4 separate regions of the Homo sapiens genome follow, and all the other regions are linked to region 1. The links are contacts of gene promoters, found by promoter capture Hi-C in human tissues and cell types (Jung and others, 2019). All regions are on one chromosome and are shown on one strand. Each heading gives the region's core, a stretch centred on a gene start or on the middle of the fragment in contact. The rest is flanking DNA. Distances are from core to core; before and after follow the strand shown.

Region 1 (5,029 bases), core at 1,705-4,204:
ATGGGGAAAAGATAGTGTGTTTGGTACTCCCAAGACCTCATGCATCCTTTTTCTTTAGCAAAACAAAATAACTATCAAAGCAAATAGATGCCCTTAGTGGGGTACAGATATCCCTTAATAAAATGTTGATTTTTCTTTAAAGACAAGTGATTCTGTGCAATAATGAAGATTGGTTTCCACTACCCCCTTTTTGTTTGTTTGTTTGACTATCTACTTTACAATTAGAGATTAGCATTGGTAGGCATTAAGTTGCTTTCCCAAACTCTATCTCAATGTAAGGACATTTCCCTACAGATAAGGATTGACAAGGGTTTCCATGCAGTTTCATGAGTTTGGGGTGAATTAGAGTTACATATTTCTGTGACTAAATCTCCTAAGGGATTAGGCAAAGGTAACTTTCACTTTGTGAGATTTCAGTTACACATAGAGAAAGCCTGCCCCCTCTGCCCCTGAGGAGGGAACTGCGGCCATATACACAGAGGAGTGCTTCTTGAAACACATTCTCTGCTTACATTTTATGCCCTACTGACTAGGGGAGTCCCTCTGTGTTAATTAATTGACAGCCAAAATAATTGTCTAAAGACATGCTGTAACTCTCTTAAAATATGATTAAGTCTTCCATGTGATAATTTCACTTCCATACCTCTCCCACTGAGGAAAAAAAGGATTGTGTTAAGAGCACATTGTAGGTTTTCTGGGAAGGAATCCAAATCAATAATACATGTTTCTCCTCCTCAGATAATCATTCTTGACCTATATAGGGCAACGGAGCCCCCAAGGAGCTCAGTGACATAGATGCCTCTGCTCCTTTTCTGCTAAGCAAGCAGGTTCATGGTAAGTGGTGACAGTTAAGAATGATTTTTCCTCAGAGTAATTGCTACACTCAGCCAACATAAAACAAGAGGACATCACCCCACCAATGAATGCCACTGTAACGGCCTCCAATGATTTTTGTGTTAAAATTGAGAAGGAAGGTACGTATAGATATGCATTAGAGCCATTTTACTATCGTTACACACAACCAGTGAAATTAAAAGTAAAACCTAAAGATCTCCTGTAATTTTTCAAAGGGGTAGACTCTTTTCACAGAGTTGATTATGAATATCTCATCACATGTATTTACATGACTGTAAAATTCCATCCTTGCAAGTCAAAACTCTTCACTGAACTGAATGTACTCATTGGAATTGATCGGATTCTTAGTGAAATGTCAGGCACGGGTTACAAATTTGTGTAACTGCTTTTGCCCAGTGAACCCTTTTTATTAAAGCAGAATGCTTATCAAGGTCACTGTGAAAGATTGTAATTTTAAAGCTCCAGGGGAAAACTAGAAATAAGAATCAACAGAAAACAGATTTAATTAGCATTTTAAAGTTTATGGTTTTTCGGGAACCTACTGGTCCCTATCACTTTCTGGATTTCACTGACAAATGTATTTTGCAGAACTAATAAGTTAGAATGATTTTGAAATCCAGCTCTCCTAAAGAGGCACACTAAAGCTTCTCATTTTCTGCTTTCTGGCAGATCAGGTTTGAGAAAGCAATCTTGAGCTTTCAAAGGCTGGAAAGAGGGTGCTAAGTAAAAATATGAGTGTCTCCTTACGTAAGATCCTACAGGTGTAGGTATACTTGGAGGTTGGCATGGAGTGAGAAATCTGGTGTATATGTATACATGTATTTGTTCCCATGCATAGTTTAGTATATTATAACAATATAAAATATGTTAGAGGGCATGGTTAAACCCTCTCTATTTTAACTTTTTTAGTCTTGCATACTATGTAACACAGACAGGATCACTTTTTATGGCATACATAAGACAACAAAATTATCTTGCCAAACGATTGCATTAGTTTTGGGAAAAAATAAACAAGATATGCCAGATCCAAAAAGATATTAGATAAGCAATAAGAAAAATGGCCAGCTAAAAGTTTACTGTAATTATGTAAGGCAACATGTATGTTATTTTGATTCTTCTTGTCACACAATGATCCAGAAACAATTATTTTAAAACAAAATTGCTTGTCTCCTCGTTAACCCCAGAAAAAATTACACTGCTTATGATCTTTCTGTTAAACCATAAGACAAGTCATTAGAATTTTAAAAAACAAAAATAATAGCGCTATCACTTACCTGCCGAGCAATGAAATTAGATGTCTTTTCAGTCTCTCTAACGTAGAATTTTGAGTAGCTCTCCACCCTCTTTTCACAAAGCTATTTCCAAAACAGTTGCAATCCACTCAAGACCATTCTGTTTATTTCAAGAAGTGTGGACCTTTGAGCATTTCAACCCCTACCGCACGGCCCATGATTTCTCAGAGCTTCTAAGAACTTCGACTTTACTCTCCTCCAGAATTCCTCCCAGACCCCTATAGAAAAATGATTCTTGAAGTTGCTGCTGAGAGTTTAATCTGTGGAGCAAGAGTACTCCTCAGAGTCCTGTCCTTAGGTACAGCAGGTGTAGAGGGAGGGGTACTTTTCATCCATTAAGGAAGGGGGCCGGGAGGCGAGGGGGTAATAGGAGGCACCGCCTTTTAGCTGCGAGGAGCAAGTAGCCCAGCTGCCCGTGGCGACGACAGTGGCGGCAAGGACAGCGGCGGCGGCAGCGTAGTTCCGTCCCTGTGGCTGCAGCTCAGTCCGGAGACGCTGTCCATCCCCTCTGGTGCTGAAGTAAGGGGACGGGAGCCCCTAAGCGCAGGTCCAGGTCGCACTTTCCTCCACCAGCGAATCCAAGCAGCAGCTTCCTTGTCTTCCGCCCTAGCCTTCTCCCCTCCGGTTCTTTTTTTTTTCTTTTTTCTTTCTTTTTTTTTTTTGTAGGGGCTAATTGTTTCTCCAAATTAACAGTCTCATACTTATTTGGTGACAACGTTTCTGGAAAAACAGGAATCCCTGGGAAATAACATCTGAGCCTCCCCTGACTTTTCAGTGGCCCTGCACGAGTTTCCTAATGCCAGAAATGAAAGAAAACGCACGCACAGGGGCGCGCACATACACGCACGAGAGAGGCAGAGAGAGAGAGAGAGGAAGAGAGAGAAAAAATATATAGATTTGTACCGTGGAAAATCCAGAGCTTCTTTGGAAAGCTCGTGGATCTTTAATTACATAAGATGAAAAGGAATATTTTGGAAAACTCCGCAATCTTGATTACCAATTAAGGGGACCACATTCAAATTTTGAGAAACCCAATTTGAAATTCCTAAATTAAACCCAGTGAAGATTCTTAGACCCTCCACGCGGAAACGATAGGTTATTGTTAAAATTTTAAAAGACAGAGAATGAAAGAATGAAAAAGACAGGAAAAAGCATCTGCACTCGGCTACCTTTTAAAACGCTGCTGAATTGGATCGGGATCGTTGCAGAGCCTCTCAGAGGATCCGGCGAACGCAGCTCCTGTGAGTGTCAGCGCTGAGCTCAGCGAGCAGGCAGCTTGGAGGCCCAGGGCAGTGCTAGCGAGTCGCCCACAGCCTAGGCTCCTGCAGTGGGGGCAGAAAACGGCTTATTTCACAAAGGACGGGATAAAGAAGGCACAAAGACAGTCAGAGGGCTCGACAATCTCTGCCTTTGTAAAGCCAGAGCAAAGCCCAATTTACGTTGTTTTTTTTGTTGGCTTTTCAGCCCATTTTCCCTCTGGTCTCCCACGCTGCCCCCTCGCCTCCCTACTCCGGAATCCGCGCTCTCCCGGGCCTTGCAGGCTCTTCACTCCCGCTCTTGGCAACTGGCTGACAACGAGCATAAAGAAGGGTATGGGTGCGTGGTCCCGAGTGCTGTCACCCAGGGCTCAGCCACCCACACTCGGCAACGGGTGCAGACGCCAGTGAACTGAGACGGGAAGTTGAAATACATAACGTTGAAACTGTTGGAAAACTGGTCAAAACCAGGGCCATGTGGACCTTTGAAACTATGTGGAGTAAAAGGGGAAAATGGAAAGAGCGAGACTGTAACACCGCCCGCCCTTGCAGACTCCTAACTTGTGCAGTGTAGATTTCTGCACAAGGAGGTTATTGATAGACATGAGAGGAAATTCGAGAAAGACTGGTGAGGGGCGCTGGTGTGTGTGGTGGGGACGGGGGTCCGGGAGGGGCGGGGCGCAACACTAATTTCTCCCGGGCTGTGGGAAGGGGCCGGACGCCTGCTCCTGGCCTCCCTTCCCCGGCGACTTCTCAGGTTCTTCTTCCTGTTCTGACACTACAGGGAAGTCCTAGACGTTGTGCTTTCCTCCCACGCTTGCTTCCATCAAGGATTAGAGCGCGTTCCCGCTGGTCTGGAACCATCCATTCCAGGTAGGGGATCTTCCCTCCCGGGGACATTGCGCTCTCCAAGCACCGGCCTGCGGCGCGCGCGGGGGACGGGCGAGGAGGCGGCACAGCCAGTGGAGTTCCAGTGGGCTCCCTGGAGGAGAAACGTTACTGAGCCGGGAATCACTCGGGACGGAAAACCAAACAGGCCGCGTATTTACTCACAGGAAAAGGCCAGACTTTGGTTGGACTTTGAGCCATTTTGCTGCAGCAGCAACGGCTTTATTTCCCTGGGGTGGCCACCAGCCGCCACCGCGGCTCGCGAGCTCCGGCTGGAAGGGGCCGCGCTGTGCTCCGCACATTGCAGGCCGCGGTCGCTGTGTGGAGCTGCACACGCAGGAAACGGTCGCCGTGGAACGAAGCCCTTGGTCAACTTTCTCTAACAGTCTTTTTTAACAGAGGATCTATTAAAGGTTGTGATTCTCTCTAAAACCGTGTTTGGGGAATCCATCTGACCTCACGGAGACACACAAACCTAAAAAGAGAGTATCTGCTGCTTGAGGCTAATTTTTAAGGGGGTCTTTTGCTTTTCAGTCCATGTGAAAACGTTGCTTAAGGTTATGGTAAATGAAGTTTCCCTTTTCCTTAGACAAATGTGGTGAAACACGTGCTTCTTTTTTCTGCAGAAACAATACCTGTCGTGTGTGTTTCAGAAAATGCCCCCTTTTTGTTAGATGATTAAAACAAACCCCCCGTGTGAGGGTTATGCTAATCAGGGGCTATCCGTCCTTGTCAGCA
Region 2 (5,029 bases), core at 1,879-4,378, 480 kb before region 1:
TTCATTTATTTGTTGTTTAATAATAATTATTTATATAGTGCTCACTGTGTGACAAGAAGTATTAATTTATTTTTCTCCCTTAACAAAAATTAACGCAACCATCTGCCTTTACAGATTAGACAAGTGCAGAGGGACCTAGAGGAAGAAAAGGCTAGAATTCAACACAGGCAGCTAGGCTCTTCACCACACACTCTGCTATCCCGCATACACAGATTATTTAAGAATGCCACCCCCAGTTGTCCTGTATACAATGACATGGCTATTGGCATCTTTCACTGGAGAGCATTATGGTTATCAATAATCTCCTAATGGGGTGTGGATAATTTTGAAAAGAACAACATAATCTTGAAGCAGCTATTCTTCTTGTATTGAAGCAATGACCACTAGAGAGAAAAAACGAGTAAGAGACTACTCTGGAACTTACAGGATGATCTTCCCCAAAGCCACGCTACTAGGAGACTGTCTGATAGAGGAAGAAGTTTGATCTCCACTCCTTCCTGAAGTGCTTTAAGAGCTAAAAATGAGAGACCGAATCATGGGAGCAGCTGCAGGTTGGTGCTGCAAACCTAAAACAGCCCCACCTGCAAAGTCTTTACAGATCTGTGGACCCAAATTGTTTAGATATCGAAAATCACCTACATAATTATTGGTCTCAAATTTTAATATAAACTAAAGACATGAATCTTCTTCTTTCTTTTTATTAATGTAACATCATTTGTCTCCAAACTTCGTTGACTTTGCATACCATTGCACATAAATAAAGGAATGCATGTGATATAGATACTGTATGAATGTATTTTGTACTTTATAAAATATACACCAAACATAATTTTAAAGGGATGATTCATTTAAAAATGATATAAGTAAAATATTCTTCTTCTCTGACTGATGGACGATTCTAGATGGAACTTTTTACAAAATCCACATTGGAGACTATTTGCTTAAAGGAATTATTGAAAAGCAATACTTCCTAATTGCCTAAAAGGCAACATATTTAAATTATTAATTAGCTATGCTTTCTGCAAATCAAGAAAATGTTTATGAATTTGCATGGGTTTACTCTTTAAACAAATCTCACATTTAACTTCTCTCACATTTAAACTTATTAAGAATTTGTAGTTTCTTAAACATAGGACCTAGGTTGGATCTTTATAAAAGTAGAATATCATCCATTTTCTACTTAAAAGTTAAGGCCTTTTTAATTTATATTCTAGTCTTTCAAAATGTACAAAATGTATTTTCATGAAACTTTAAAATTTAAGGTCTATTAATTTTGAAATATACTCACAATATCAGATATAAGAAATGACAAACTACAAAAAGTAGGCAGAGATAATAAAATGGACTGCAAATTTTCTTGCAAGTATCCACAGTATTTCCATGTTTCAAGTGCCAAATACGATTTAATTTGTTTTGTCTTATACTGTACTGCATTGTAGCAGTAGTGTACTAAATGTTCTTTTATGCAAAGTGCTTCAAACTGCATCTTATCATTTACGTTCCCATTCCTGGATTACTTTTGATCATGGCCTTTTCCTTAACTAAATTCTAGCCATTATTCGAGTCCTGGCACCAGACTCCCTTCTCTTTGAAGCCTTCTGAAATCATTCTATTCAAAGATGAGTCCTCACTTTCCTGAACACTTGGATTCCATTAAGTAAATATTTACCCCAAAATTGATCACTATTGTCTTTTGGCATCACATATAGTGACTTCAGCAATATTTAGCTATATCTCACATGAGTGATTTAATTTCCTCTTCTATATTGTTATCTCAGTAACAGGTTGTCACTCTTTTCAGTACTAAGGATTACTAATTTACAAGAGCTAGTATGGTAATAACAGTATTACCAATTAAATAAATCTTCTGTATCTTAATAGAATTTGAGAAATATCCCAAATTAGTACATCAAAACAATTTTGTTTACAAAAAGCTCTTGTAAATCTTTCCAGCCTCTGAAATCCAAAATAAACCATTTGTTAAATAGTATTTGACCACTGTCCAATCTGTACCATATGAATGTCATGTGTCCCATAAGTATCTCATTCACACAAATATCCACTGGGTTTCAATGAATGCCTTACTACTCAAGACATAAGGTTGCACATTAATGGAAATAGAAGACTTGCTACTTTTAAAATTAAGTATGCAATTAAAACCAGAAATGGGCCGGGCACAGTGGCTCACGCCTGTAATCCCAGCACTTTGGGAGGCCGAGTCGGGTGGATCACGAGGTCAGGAGATCGAGATCTTCCTGGCTAACACGGTGAAACCTCGTCTCTAATACAAAAATACAAAATAAAAAAATTAGCCTGGCGTGGTGGCAGGCACCTGTAGTCCCAGCTACTTCGGAGGCTGAGGCTGGAGAATGGCATGAACCCAGGAGGCAGAGCTTGCAGTGAGCCGAGATCGCGCCACTGCACTCCAGCCTGGGCGACAGAGTGAGACTCCATTAAAAAAAAAAAAAAAAACAGAAATTAGACAATTAAAATTTAAAATACAAAGCTTCTAGAACATTAATTCAGTTTTTAAAAATATATGAACCAATAAGTGCTAAGTTAAAAAGATGAATAATGTACACACTCTGACCTTATAGTATTCAGTGTAGCACATGAGAAAGGTTTGTAAACAAAAAAACTGCCTTGTAATTTGATGAGTATTAGCATAGAGATATGTTTAAAATGTTATGCTTAAAGCATTAAAAGTAGAAACATAAGAATAGAAATATAAAAGCAATTTATTAGTTTTCTGAAAAACCTTATATTTATATTCTGAACTTCTTACCAACAGTGACAAGTATTTTTAAATATATATTTTTTCAATTGCTTTAGAAGAAAATAAGGAGTTACTTTCCACAAATTCATGCAAGAACTGTAAACACATGACATTTCACTAAAGTAACAGTCTTCACAAGGTTAAGAACTGAAGTCTTTCCCTAGTTTGATTTTAACACTACCAGAGGTAAGCAGTTATGGTTGGTTTTTGTTGAGTTGTTTATATACAATAAAAAAATGCTTTAAACCTTTTAAACAAATATAAAACATTTTTAAGCTGCAAGTATTTGTATTTTGCCTGAAGAATGAAAACACAATACTTTGAATGTTACATATTTAGTAAAAAAAAAAAAAAAAGTTAGTTTTTCTTCCTAAGATGGAATGGTTGTATTCCCTGGGGGCCCACATCCATGCACTATTGAACTGTAAACTTGAACACTGTTTATCATCCTTGAAATACTAATGTGCCACTTTAACTCGTGCTGAAATGTGATGACAGCTCTACAGAGAATCTAAATTCTTGTGTATTAATACTTAAATAATATTGAATTACTTAAATACTATCAGAATCATAAAATCATAGAATTTTAGGGCTGAAAGGAACCTTAGATGTCTTCTAATTTATTACCATTTATGTGAAAAGAATTCTTTCCAACACTTCCACTACCTGAAATGTGCAGAGTTGGTGAAGAGGAGCAACTCAATTATATTCAATATGCTCCAGTCTTCCTAAAGAAAGAGTTAAAGTCCAAGGCTTTCCATGCACAGTTAGGTTTTCTATCTTTGCAGAAGGAGAACGTAATCTGGAAGGAAAAAGAGCCCATCCTCCTCTCTCCATTTTCTGCCAAAAGCAGAATTTCCCTATATAAATTGGAGCCAAGTGTTTCCCGCTTATATTCTGTTTTCCCTGTTTGAAAAGCAGAAAGCTCTGTACTCACCTCCTCACAGGCGGTTCTGAAATCCATGTGCTGTGGCACCACAAAGGATGTCGTCTGAAAAGACACAGAAATGGTAAGCCATTAGGCACAGCATGGCATGTAAGAGAGAACACTAATATAGTGGAGGAAATCGTGAAGCAGAACTTGTGGGAAAACTGTGTTTACAACCACTTGTAAGGAACAAGAGCTCCAGGGTATACTGAAGAGAGGAAAATGAACAGATGAAAAAAGTCTTAATCCCCAGCTTTTAGGAAGTATAAATATCCTGCCATCATTCAGTGTGATTGAGTGTGCATTTCCAGGCACCTTTCCACCCCGCCAGCAGGCATTCAGACTCCATGTATCATCAGATCAACCTCTTCTCGCTCATTCCCAACATGCATTGTGAAACCTGAGTTTGCAATTGAGAAAGAAACTTCAAAAAGAGCAATTAAAAGTTGCCTTTCATATGGTTACCTCATGAAAAAAGATTGACTAATCTCTCTCTTTTTAATTAAAAAGCTACATGCATGAATAATTCTCTCTGGAACTTAAAATTTTATTCACAATATGATGTAAGGAAGCAAGCTATTTGTCAGAGTGAATAATATTAAGAAAAATCAATGTATAAAATATCTAAAATAGATTCATCTATGGTCACTATAATACCTAAATGATGAATGTAGATTTAAATACATATAGATGTTTTTGTAAAATTATTCTGGAGTGTTTTGTTTTCATTACGTGATACACCTAACCAAACTAAGATATGTCACGGAAAGTTGACACCCAGACACTATAAAACAAAGCAATGCAGAGCCAAAATATAATGGATAAGTAAATGAGACGTCAAAGTAAGATGAATGATTAATTCCAAAATAGAAGACTTTGTACTCCTCAAAATTACTCATCTCAGCCTTTGGAAGAGTAAACTATTATATCTTTCTTTGGCATTTCTTTTTAATTATACAAGATTAATTAATGCTTTATCAGGTAAGTGTGGCAAAACAGAGTAGGAGGTATCACCATGCTGTCACTGAACTGATAGATTATTACTATTGACTTTGAAAGAAAGAGATTAGCCATCATCAGTAGTAACCAAATGCATCATATAATCTATTAAATATTTCCCCTAGATAAATCTTGTGGATTGTGAGCCTCATTAATATTAATGAAATTTTTATTACTAACTTAATTATTTTTCAAAATTGCTCTTAAACATTTTATTTGAAGAACCTGTAAATATCTTCTTGTCTCTAACTGTGATGTAAAGTTATTCTTTTACTACAAAAGAAGGAAAATTTTGATATGTATTGATTATATAAAAACAAGAGATG
Region 3 (5,029 bases), core at 912-3,411, 400 kb before region 1:
ATTGGAGAAATAAGCTATCTTTCGTTGGGGCCATCTATCTGTGTTATTTTGAGACAATCACTAAGCATCCCTCTCCTTGGAAATAAGACTAGCGGGGAATTGACCAGAAAAGATAGATGGGGGGAACTAAAAGCATTTGTTGGTTTAATATTTTACAATATCACTGAAATCCCAGATAATATTCACTCTAATAGCTTTGGATTTACTATTAAATTTTTATATTTTCAAAATAGGAACACTGAACCCACAGTGAAACCCAGAGCAGACTATGTAACTTGTCCATTGTCATACAGCTGGATTTTTTTCTATTTTAAAAACATACAAAAACATATTCTTCACAAAATACATTCCAAAATCATATGCATACTACCTTTCTTTACTGTTATTAAGGAGAATCTATTCTTCCAGTCCTCTCCATTAATGGGGATAATTAAGAGTCTGCAGTGATCCCAGGAGAACAGACAATGCACAAATATCAAATAACTGAACTAGAGAAATTAAATGCAAAGACTAGTACTTGGTTACCCTGGCAACTTAATTGAATATTTCACATTACTCTTGGGTCAGTCAAAAACTATACAAAGTGTATTTCCATGTATTTTCTACAGAATATTTTTGAGAATAATCTCAAGATATAGAGTTTTCCAACGCTTACCTACATTCTTAAGTGTTTTCTTTGTTGAGTTCATAAGAAATATACATATAAAGAGAATTGAACAAGTTGTAGTGGATAACAATTTAAGATTTTGAAATATATTTTCAGAATTTCAAGGTACATAGGCCCAAAGCATTTATATTTTCAGTCACATTATGCATATCAAAAATACATATTTTAAGAATAAGACGTTTGTATGTAAAAGATGATTCGTAACCCTAGGCACACAACCTACTCAATGTATCCACTCAAGGGATCCTGTTAAGAAAAGGCTTTCTGTCAAAAGCCATACATAAACACACACCTCATCAAAACATGATTATAAAAGCACTTAGGCTCTGCATTTAAAATGTGAAGTTGGTGGTTGATCAGCACACATATTGCTGTCTACAACGGAACATAACCTTTCCTAAAGTGGCACACTGTGTGGGTTCTGCAGGCCCTGATAATGAATGCTGACAGAGGTATCCAATTATTCAGGCTTGGCTGCAGCCACAGTCCCTTAACTATGTGAGATGAATGGGATGATGGAGAACACACAGAGGGAACACAAACCTTAGATAGCCAAGTATAAAATGAAAGAAATACATTTTCAAAAACAGAACTTAAAAACAGTAATTTTAAGTTGATAGGAAGGCTCATAATATTTTTAGAAAGAATCATGCCTCAGTGAAATAAGCAATGAATCAGAAGTCAGGACCTAATTTTGGCTCAGGCCTTAAGTAGCTGTGTGATCTTGAAATAAAATTTTCTGGACTTTTGTCCTCATTTGTCTAAAGGCAGGAGGTGGCAATTGAACGCTGAAATAGATTAACTGTAAGACCCCATTTAGCTATGACATTTCATGATTCAATTATACACATACATTCTTTATATATGGGAAATGTGTATTTTATACTGGTATGTATATCTTATCTCACAATACTAATTGTTTAACCAATATATCAAATCTTATGTAAAAACACTTTAATAGCTTCACAGACTCACTTTCAAAGGATACTTACATTTATTTATTTATTTATTTGTTTACTTACTCATTTTGGGATGGAGTTTCACTCTTGTTGTCCAGGTTGGAGTGCAATGGCATGGTCTCGGCTCATTGCAACCTCTGCCTCCCAGGTTCAAGCGATTCTCCTGCCTCAGCCTCCCGAGTGGCTGGGATTACAGGCATGCGCCACCACACCTGGCTAATTTTGTATTTTTAGTAGAGACAGGGTTTCTCCATGTTGGTCAGACTGGTCTTGAACTTCTGACCTCAGGTGACCCATCCACCTTGACCTCCCAAAGTGCTGGGATTACATGCGTGAGCCACCAAGCCCAGCCAGGATACTTATATTAAATAAAATTGCGACTGTTTAAGCTTCTTGAAATTCTACTCTTAGAACTGCATTCAGGATGCATTTCTGCAATTTTTGTTAGCAATTAAAATCTTTATTCTTTGAAATTGAAATTTTATAACACTCCAAGGAATCAATAATTATTTTATTTAATAAAACTAGAGAATAATCCAGGTAACAAGTTTGAGATAAAACAAAGCAGATATTTCAAACAATGCCACATGGTTCGAGTAGGTAAACTCCTTCCCCAGGCGACCAACTTGAAGGACAATGGTCATTTTAAACTGTAAGCTTAGATGTACGAGGATCTTCTAGATAGATGCATATGCAAGTGGATGTGCTCAAACACAGATTGAGTTTCAATTAATATTGATTAAATAAAATGGGCTGTTTGACTATTTTTACGCACATAGACACTGAATTTTTTTACTTTTGATATTAATACCACAGAAGTTAAAACACAATGTTTTCCAGTTAATTGTCTCAGTCCAATATTTTTTGGACACTGACCAATGGAGTTTGCGGACAGCGAATTAATTTGTTGTTGCAATAAAAAGGTTTTTTTTGATACTAAGTATTAAAATTCTTAGCTTCTAAGGTCTTAAAAACTTTTGGAAGATAACTGGTTAAAGCTAAATTAGATACACATTTTCCTTTAATCTCCACTTCGTCTCTCAGAAGCCAATGTCACTCTTCTTTAAAATAGCTGCATACCTAAACCGCTACTAAGATATGGTATATTTGTTCCAGCCCTCAATGTTACCTGCCTCTTCTGTAGCTTTTTGAAGTTTTATTACCAAGAAAGATACAATCAATTTGCCCTAAATTAATGAATGCAGCTTGCATGTCAAAATCCCCCACTCATCTCGTTGAAGTATGAGCACAGTAAAATAACATCTGATACGAAATTCATTTGTTTTCCCAGCATTAGCTTTGCATTTAACTATGTGGGCCGAAGGAATCAAAACCATCTGACTTTCTCTTCTTGAAATAATCAGTACATTTTTACAGAACAGTGATTTTTTTTTTTTTGTCTTAAAAAAGAAAGAGGCAAAGTCTATTTAATATTTAGGAACTCAAAAACCTGAGAGAAAAGAGTAAATACGCGGCTTCCCTCTTATCATGAAATCCTGTCATTTTTGCTTTAGAAAATGATACACAGATTTCGAAAGAAACTTAAACCTAGGTGCCCTTTCAAATATATAACAATAACCAAAAGCTTGTGGCTTTCTTCATCTTCTGAACTTTAAGCTTGATTAAATTCAGTAAAGGGCTATGAATGTTGTAAAATAGCTTTAGAAAATTTTTTTTTTATTTCTTCTAAGTATTAGCTCTTTCCAGATGACTATAAATGCCTAGAATTTGGGAAGACACATTTGTGTTCTATCAGGAAAGCCTTTCAAAGTCATCTTTGATGTGTAGATCAAAACTATTGCTTCCTAGTTATAACACACAAAAATCTAGTTTATGAATAGAAACATTTAAAAAAAAACAAAACATCATTTGTATAACTATCTAGCTCTGGAAATCATTTGCCAGGAAAACGAGGGCAGAAAGTTAGCAAGAACAAAAATGTCTAAATAGCGTTTCTGACTTTAAGAGCCAGTTGTTAGAAGACACCAATATCTATGGACAATTGGGAAATGATAGCAACTTTTATTTTATTAAGCATTTAATAACACATAAATGAGTAGGTATGACATATAATCCATTAGAAACAATGACATTAAATTAATGGTAGTGTGCTCTACCCAGCTGACTATATATTTAATATAACTTGGAATATTACAAATCTTAAAAGAAAACAGAAGGAAGATGGAGGTGGTGACAATGTAGATTTTTTAACATTCTTAAATCCCTCTGAAAATGAGAAGAGTGGTTTATACATAAAATATTAAAATATGGGCAACATCTACAACAATGACCACACAAAAGGAGGTAAGATAGCTATACACACCCCAATGTGCTTGCTTGGTCAAGAAGAAAATACAAGTGAACTCTATAGGCCTTGCATGGCATTAGCGTCTGAGTGGAGGAAGCAGAGAGAAGCAGAGAAGCCTCTCACGACTATGGAAGAACTAAATAAAGAAAAACTAATCCCACTAATAGGAACTCTCTGGAGTGTACAATGGACTGATTTGAGAACAAAAGATGAAACTTGAAGTGTTTTTGTTTCAAATTAATACCAGAGTGAAAGGGGTCTCTGATAAAGTCTGAAGGTGCTGGGACCATCTGAGTCCTGTGAGCGCTTCCAAAGATTCCTTGCAGGACAACGATAAAACAAAACAGACAATGGAAGCAATTGCAGCATCACTGGAGTGAGTGAACTTACTGTCCAGTCAAAGCTTTCTTCAGAACAAAGCCCTGAGCTGAGAGAAACCTCTAGCAACATATATTTTCATTGAAGGAGTAAGAAAAATATGGGCAAAGGGAAAGCTGAAATGTTAGAACAGATCCAGGACATCTCAGAATGTGGGACAGTGCCTTTTAAAACAATTCACAGGGCAACAGAAAGATCTCTAATGCCATGAAGCTAGAAAAACAAGCCTTTTGTAACCTCTTTCCTAAAAGTTCAGCTATAAATAAATGATGTCTACAAAAATGAAGAACAGAAAGAAGTTATAATTGAATTACATATAAAGCTGATACAAGAAAAACATCGAAGACAGAATAATGTACTTAGAGGCAACATTAGCATAGGACATGCCCATAAATTGATGAAAATTATGACCTAATGTTTCAAAATGAGCTAAGAAGATGATGAAAAGTAAAATGAAGATATAAATTAGGATTAAAAACAAAAATCAAGTAATAAAACACAGGAATATTTTTTATTTCATAAATAAAATACTTTTTTCAGACATAAAGGCTAAGAGGAAAATAAAAAAATAGAAAATTCCTTGAAACAGAAAGATGGAAGAGAGGAAATTTTTTTGAAATAAAAAATAAATGGAGAAAATATGAATTAAAATTATAATGCAATACCACTACATATAGTCCAATCAGCTAAATAATAATAATAATGAAATATATACAA
Region 4 (5,029 bases), core at 1,034-3,533, 270 kb after region 1:
TATTTTACCATGTTACCTTTTCATTTTGTATGTGTTTTTTGAAAATAGATAATACTTCATAATTATCTAATGTTTTAATTTCATAATTTCAGTACACATAATCTAATTCTGTGCAGGATTTGTACTCTTTCTAGTGTTTTTATGGTTCATGTCGATTTTATTAAGGAATCTGATATAAAGAAGGTTATCTCTAAACTATTAAGGAATCTGATATAAAGAAGGATATCTCTAAACTATTAAGGAATCTGATATAAAGAAGGATATCTCTAAACTATTAGGGAATCTGATATAAAGAAGGATATCTCTAAACTATTAAGGAATCTGATATACAAAAGGATATCTCTAAACTAGCAATCTGAGGGTATTGCATGTGAATGTTTTCTTTCCTGAACTGTGAAGTAAAATACAAGTGGGAAAGAATTGATGAATATGTAAACTGACAGAGTGGAACGTATTAATCAATGGTGCTGTGAATCTAGGTTCCTGCTTCTATAATGGCCACTGATTCGAAAGAAGTAAAAGAAAAGAAAGAAACCAGATAGGCTGCCAGATGTGAAAATAGTGGCTTATAGTATATGGTAAATATTGTCTTAAAGTTTTGACAATTTTCAAGATATGAAGGTTTTTAGTCGCATTTAAATTGCAGTAATATTTTCGTGGGAAAATTATCTCTTTTGTTATTTAACACAAACTTTCTAATGGCCTTGTCCTATATTATGGTATAAATATTACATAATAAAATAGGAACAGATTTTTATTATATAAAGTTTTCTCATGCGTAAATGGTAAAGAGGTAATTATGGTGATTTCAGGAAAAAACAAGGCTTACTGCTTGAATAAACACTGGGCTTTATTGGAAAAAAGTATTCACAGCCTGACCACCTTCCTCTTTTGCTGATGGCAGGGTGGACAAGTCTGTGTTCATAGGATGGAAACACGGTGTGAGTACCAGGTACTTCAACATGGCACAGCATCCTATTTGTGGCAGCCGAGTTCCCTTGGAAAGTGTACGAGCACAGTTGGAGCCAAGGTTTTCAGAGAGAGGGTGGAAAAATAAAGTTTAGCAGCTAATCCAAAGACAGAAGCAAGACTGGAAGAAGAGATAATACCCCAAAGGACTCCAGTGGAACACGAACAAAAAAAGGAGGTTGTTAGAAGCAACTATTGCAGCAGGTGCAGGATGTCCACAGTATGCCTGCTTGGACAGAATGGACTGATTGGTGATATTTTCTGAGTCAACCTGGGAAATTCTTCTGATTAATTCATTGATTCTAAAGTTTTTTAGTTTTCTGTGGTGTTTTGCTCTAGGAGTGGGCTATGTCTGTGCTGATATATCAAGTACAATTGTTCAATTTACTCATGCAAGAGACTAACAGAGAACTGAAAAAGCCAATTACCAAATGGGATTCTCTAGCATCTATTATATAATGATGACCATATTTTTATTATAATAATAAAACTAGACATAATAATACCAGCTAACATTTATGGGATGCTTAATTCTAGGCATTATGCTGAGAATATCTTATGCATTATTTTCTTTAGTTTTCTTAACACACTTAATAGGTTATTATTACTGTTATTATTATTCCTACACTAATAGGGAAGATATTATTAAAGTTTATGAAATGCTCATTACCAACTAAAGGTCACACATATTACAAGTGAGGAGCCCAGCTCTTGACCTAAGTCTTGTGACTCAAACACTACAATTGTTATATGATAATTTCCTCTTCATGGATGCTGATAGAATGTTACCAGAATGCTCTCCCATAGTAGGCACTCAATAAATGACTAACGGAAGAAAGGAAGGAAGGAAGGAAGGAAGGAAGGAAGGAAGGAAGGAAGGAAGGAAGGAAGGAACCATTACACATTTTTCATGTAAGAATTTTTATATGTGTCCCTTCACCACACCAATACTTTAACAAAGCTTTTTAAAACAGTTATCCATTGCCAAATATGCATGTAGTTGTGAAATAAAGGGTGAGTGCATGGGCATTTAGGGGCTAAGGATAAGGTATCATCAGCATAGAGAGGTAGCAGGCAGAGATAGAGCTGATGAAAGGGAAATCCAGACAAAGAGCCCCAGTAAGAGCTGGCAGACTGTGACTGTGACACAGGCATATGCCCTTCCCTGGTTCTCTCTATAGGAAAACAAAATTATTTCAGAGAAAGCTGAACTTGAGTTTCCTGCTGTTGAATGTGAATAAAGAACTTAGTCATTGCATTAATAATAAAGGAAAAGTAATTATCAATGATACAAAGATATGAAACAAGTATGTTACAAAAGCTTTTATATTTAACTCAGTTTCTTCCTTGGAGATGCAATGTCAACATTTTCCTAGGCTAAAAATAGGTAATCAAATCCTTGTTTGTTGCTTAAGAAATATTTTTAATATGTGTGCATATATTAAACCTCAGAGAATTACATTGATGAGATAATGCTTGAATTTCCATTTATCATTTAAAGCCAATGACTTAATTAAGCTTTGATAAATTTTCATTAATTATTTAACCTCAAAGAAAGCTTATAAGACACCCCAGAGTGCTTATTTCTAACTAATAGGCAGTGCAGGAAATAAATTTTTATACAAACATTCATATAGTTTATTAATATTTAAGACTACACTTCTTGTTGCCAACTATTTTTAATAAAATGTATTATTTCAAATATATCAAAGAAAATTAGAACTTTGTTAAATGTTACTAACATCTGAGTCAACTACAAAACTATCACACTAAAATATAAGCAGTTTATTTTCAGTATCTTAAAACTGAGGAAAAAAATATTTCATGTCTTAGAATATCCTAGTTAAACTACATTTCACCAACAGGAATCCATTGTAGTGTTTTCATTTCAGTCTAGTCTAATCTTATTTTTTATTATATCATTTTTAATGTATAATTCTAGTCTTAATTGTTGTTTCTCTATCATTCTCCCAGGGTCCCTTTATGTCACTCATAATATTGCAGACATGGGAGGTGCTCCATCAAACCCAGAATGAAAGAATTTAATAATTGCATGAGATGTTAAACATTCCCTAGTTCATTCACCCACCCACACAATGATCGAAGCTCAATTAAGTAAATATGACCAAATTGAACACTAAAAATGTACCTCCCTTCCAATAAAAGAACATCTCAACCAATAGTTGCATTAGGTGTTAAATATCACCTATTTCATTCACCCATGCAATGATTGATGCTCAATTAAATAAATATGACAAAATTGAACATTAAAAAAGTATTCCCCCCATAAAGGAACGTCTCAGCCACTCTATCTAATGCACCCACTTTACCAGGCACATTAACCTGACCAAACTAACTTGATTAGTCTCTTTCTAGTTGCCAAAGCCTAGAAAGATTTCAGTTGTAGTCTATTATTGATGACTGAAACAATAACAGTTTGAGTTATTTAAAATACAGAAAATTGAGAGGATAAGAAAAATTCCCAAAAGAGTATGTTATGGGCCAATCACGGTGACTCATGCTGCAATCGCAGTGCTTTGGATGACTGAGGCAGGAAGGTTGATTGAGGCCAGGAGTTTAAGATCAGCCTCAAAACAGCAAGACCACGTCTCTACCAAAAAAAATAAATTAAATTAAATTAAAATTATCTAGGCATTGTGGTTGTGCATGTGCATGCCTGTAGTCCTAGCTACTCAGGGGACTAAAGTGGGAGGATTGCCTGAGCCCAAGATGTCAAAGGTTGCAATGAGCCCTGATCCTGCCACTGCTCCTCAGCCTGGGTGACAGAGACCCTATCTCTTTTAAAAAATGTGTGTTACAAACCAAATATTTGTGTCTATTTGTGTCCTCCCTCAATTCATATGTTGAAATTCACACTGCCAATGAGATGGTATTTGGAGTTAGGCCTTTGGGAGATGATTAGGTTTAGATGAGGTCATGAGGAAGGGGCGCCATAATGGGATCAGTGTCCTCATAATAAAAGAAAAGCCTGGAGCTTGCTCTCTCTCTTTCTTTCTTTCTTTTCTTTTTTTTTTTTTTTTTTTTTTTTTGAGACAGAGTCTCGCTCTGTCGCCCAGGCTGGAGTGCAGTGGCGCGATCTCAGCTCACTGCAAGCTCCACCTCCCGGGTTCAGGCCATTCTCCTGCCTCAGCCTCCTGAGTAGCTGGGACCACAGGCGCCCGCCACCACGCCTGGCTAATTTTTTTGTATTTTTATTAGAGACGGGGTTTCACCATGTTAGCCAGGATGTTCTCCATCTCCTGACCTCTTGATCCACCCGCCTCGGCCTCCCAAAGTGCTGGGATTACAGGTGCTCTCTTTCTTAGTGGGGCAAAGAGGAGGTTATGTGAGTGCATATTGAGAAGGCACCACCCAGGAGCCAAAAGAAAGGGCTCAGAATGAAACCTACGATGTTAGCAGCTTCATCTTGGCCTTCCCAGTTTCCAGAATTGTGAGAGATACATTTCTATTGTGTAATCTATTCAGCCTATGGTATTTTGTTAGGCAGCCAAGCTAAGAGTAAAAACTTAGGGAGGAGAAATTGACTAAAAAAAAGGAGGCAAAGATCTAAGTTGTAAGTTGAACATAAAATAAAAGTAATGGAAATAGACTACAAAGAGAACAAGGAGGATTCTGGGGAAAAAAAATGAAGCAAGACATTCAAATAAACCCTGATGTGTCTGAGTAGACTTGAATGGAGATAAAGGTAAATGATTAGACTGAACAATTCAAAGATGTCTCCAAAAAAAAAAAACAGAGAACATTAATCATTAAATGAAATGGTCTAGTGAAATATCATTTGACCCTCGAAGATTTGCTTGTTCCATATGGAAATGTGACCAAAAGTTGAGTCAGTTGTTTTATTTAGTAAGACAAAATTTGGTTATGTATATTTTAGATTTTTTGGTCTGAAATATTGCTTAAACAGTAAAGATATTGCAGAATATAAATATACATTTGTATTGGTCTGCTTTCACACTGCTCTGATGAAATACTTGACGCTGGGTGATTTATAAAGGAAAGAAGTTTAATTGACTCACAGTTCCATGTTGCTGGGGAG

Evidence for each region. The method cuts DNA at HindIII sites, captures the fragments that hold promoters and counts their contacts. A contact is called where the count stands out against the background at its distance.
Region 2: a contact is called between a fragment that was not itself captured here and the fragment with the promoter of SNTG1 in region 1, in 1 of the 25 tissues and cell types used here (mesendoderm cells).
Region 3: a contact is called between a fragment that was not itself captured here and the fragment with the promoter of SNTG1 in region 1, in 2 of the 25 tissues and cell types used here (H1 embryonic stem cells and hippocampus).
Region 4: a contact is called between a fragment that was not itself captured here and the fragment with the promoter of SNTG1 in region 1, in 1 of the 25 tissues and cell types used here (H1 embryonic stem cells).

What each region holds. Positions count from the first base shown.
Region 1 is chr8:49,909,332-49,914,360 of GRCh38, reverse strand. SNTG1 (syntrophin gamma 1) reads right to left here and starts at 2,954. Exons shown (of 19, transcript NM_018967.5): 1 at 2,130-2,954. RefSeq lists an enhancer at 3,105-4,049. The HindIII fragment of the contact is 7,737 bases long and covers 1-5,029 here.
Region 2 is chr8:50,392,950-50,397,978 of GRCh38, reverse strand. It overlaps SNTG1 (syntrophin gamma 1), which reads right to left. Exons shown (of 19, transcript NM_018967.5): 3 at 3,714-3,767. The coding sequence starts at 3,740. Among named protein-coding and RNA genes, the nearest start is that of SNTG1, 480 kb to the right of the region's middle. The HindIII fragment of the contact is 5,713 bases long and covers 272-5,029 here.
Region 3 is chr8:50,307,356-50,312,384 of GRCh38, reverse strand. All of the region lies in intron 2 of SNTG1 (syntrophin gamma 1), which reads right to left. Among named protein-coding and RNA genes, the nearest start is that of SNTG1, 400 kb to the right of the region's middle. The HindIII fragment of the contact is 3,258 bases long and covers 533-3,790 here.
Region 4 is chr8:49,642,190-49,647,218 of GRCh38, reverse strand. No RefSeq gene overlaps it. Among named protein-coding and RNA genes, the nearest start is that of SNTG1, 270 kb to the left of the region's middle. The HindIII fragment of the contact is 5,277 bases long and covers 1-4,921 here.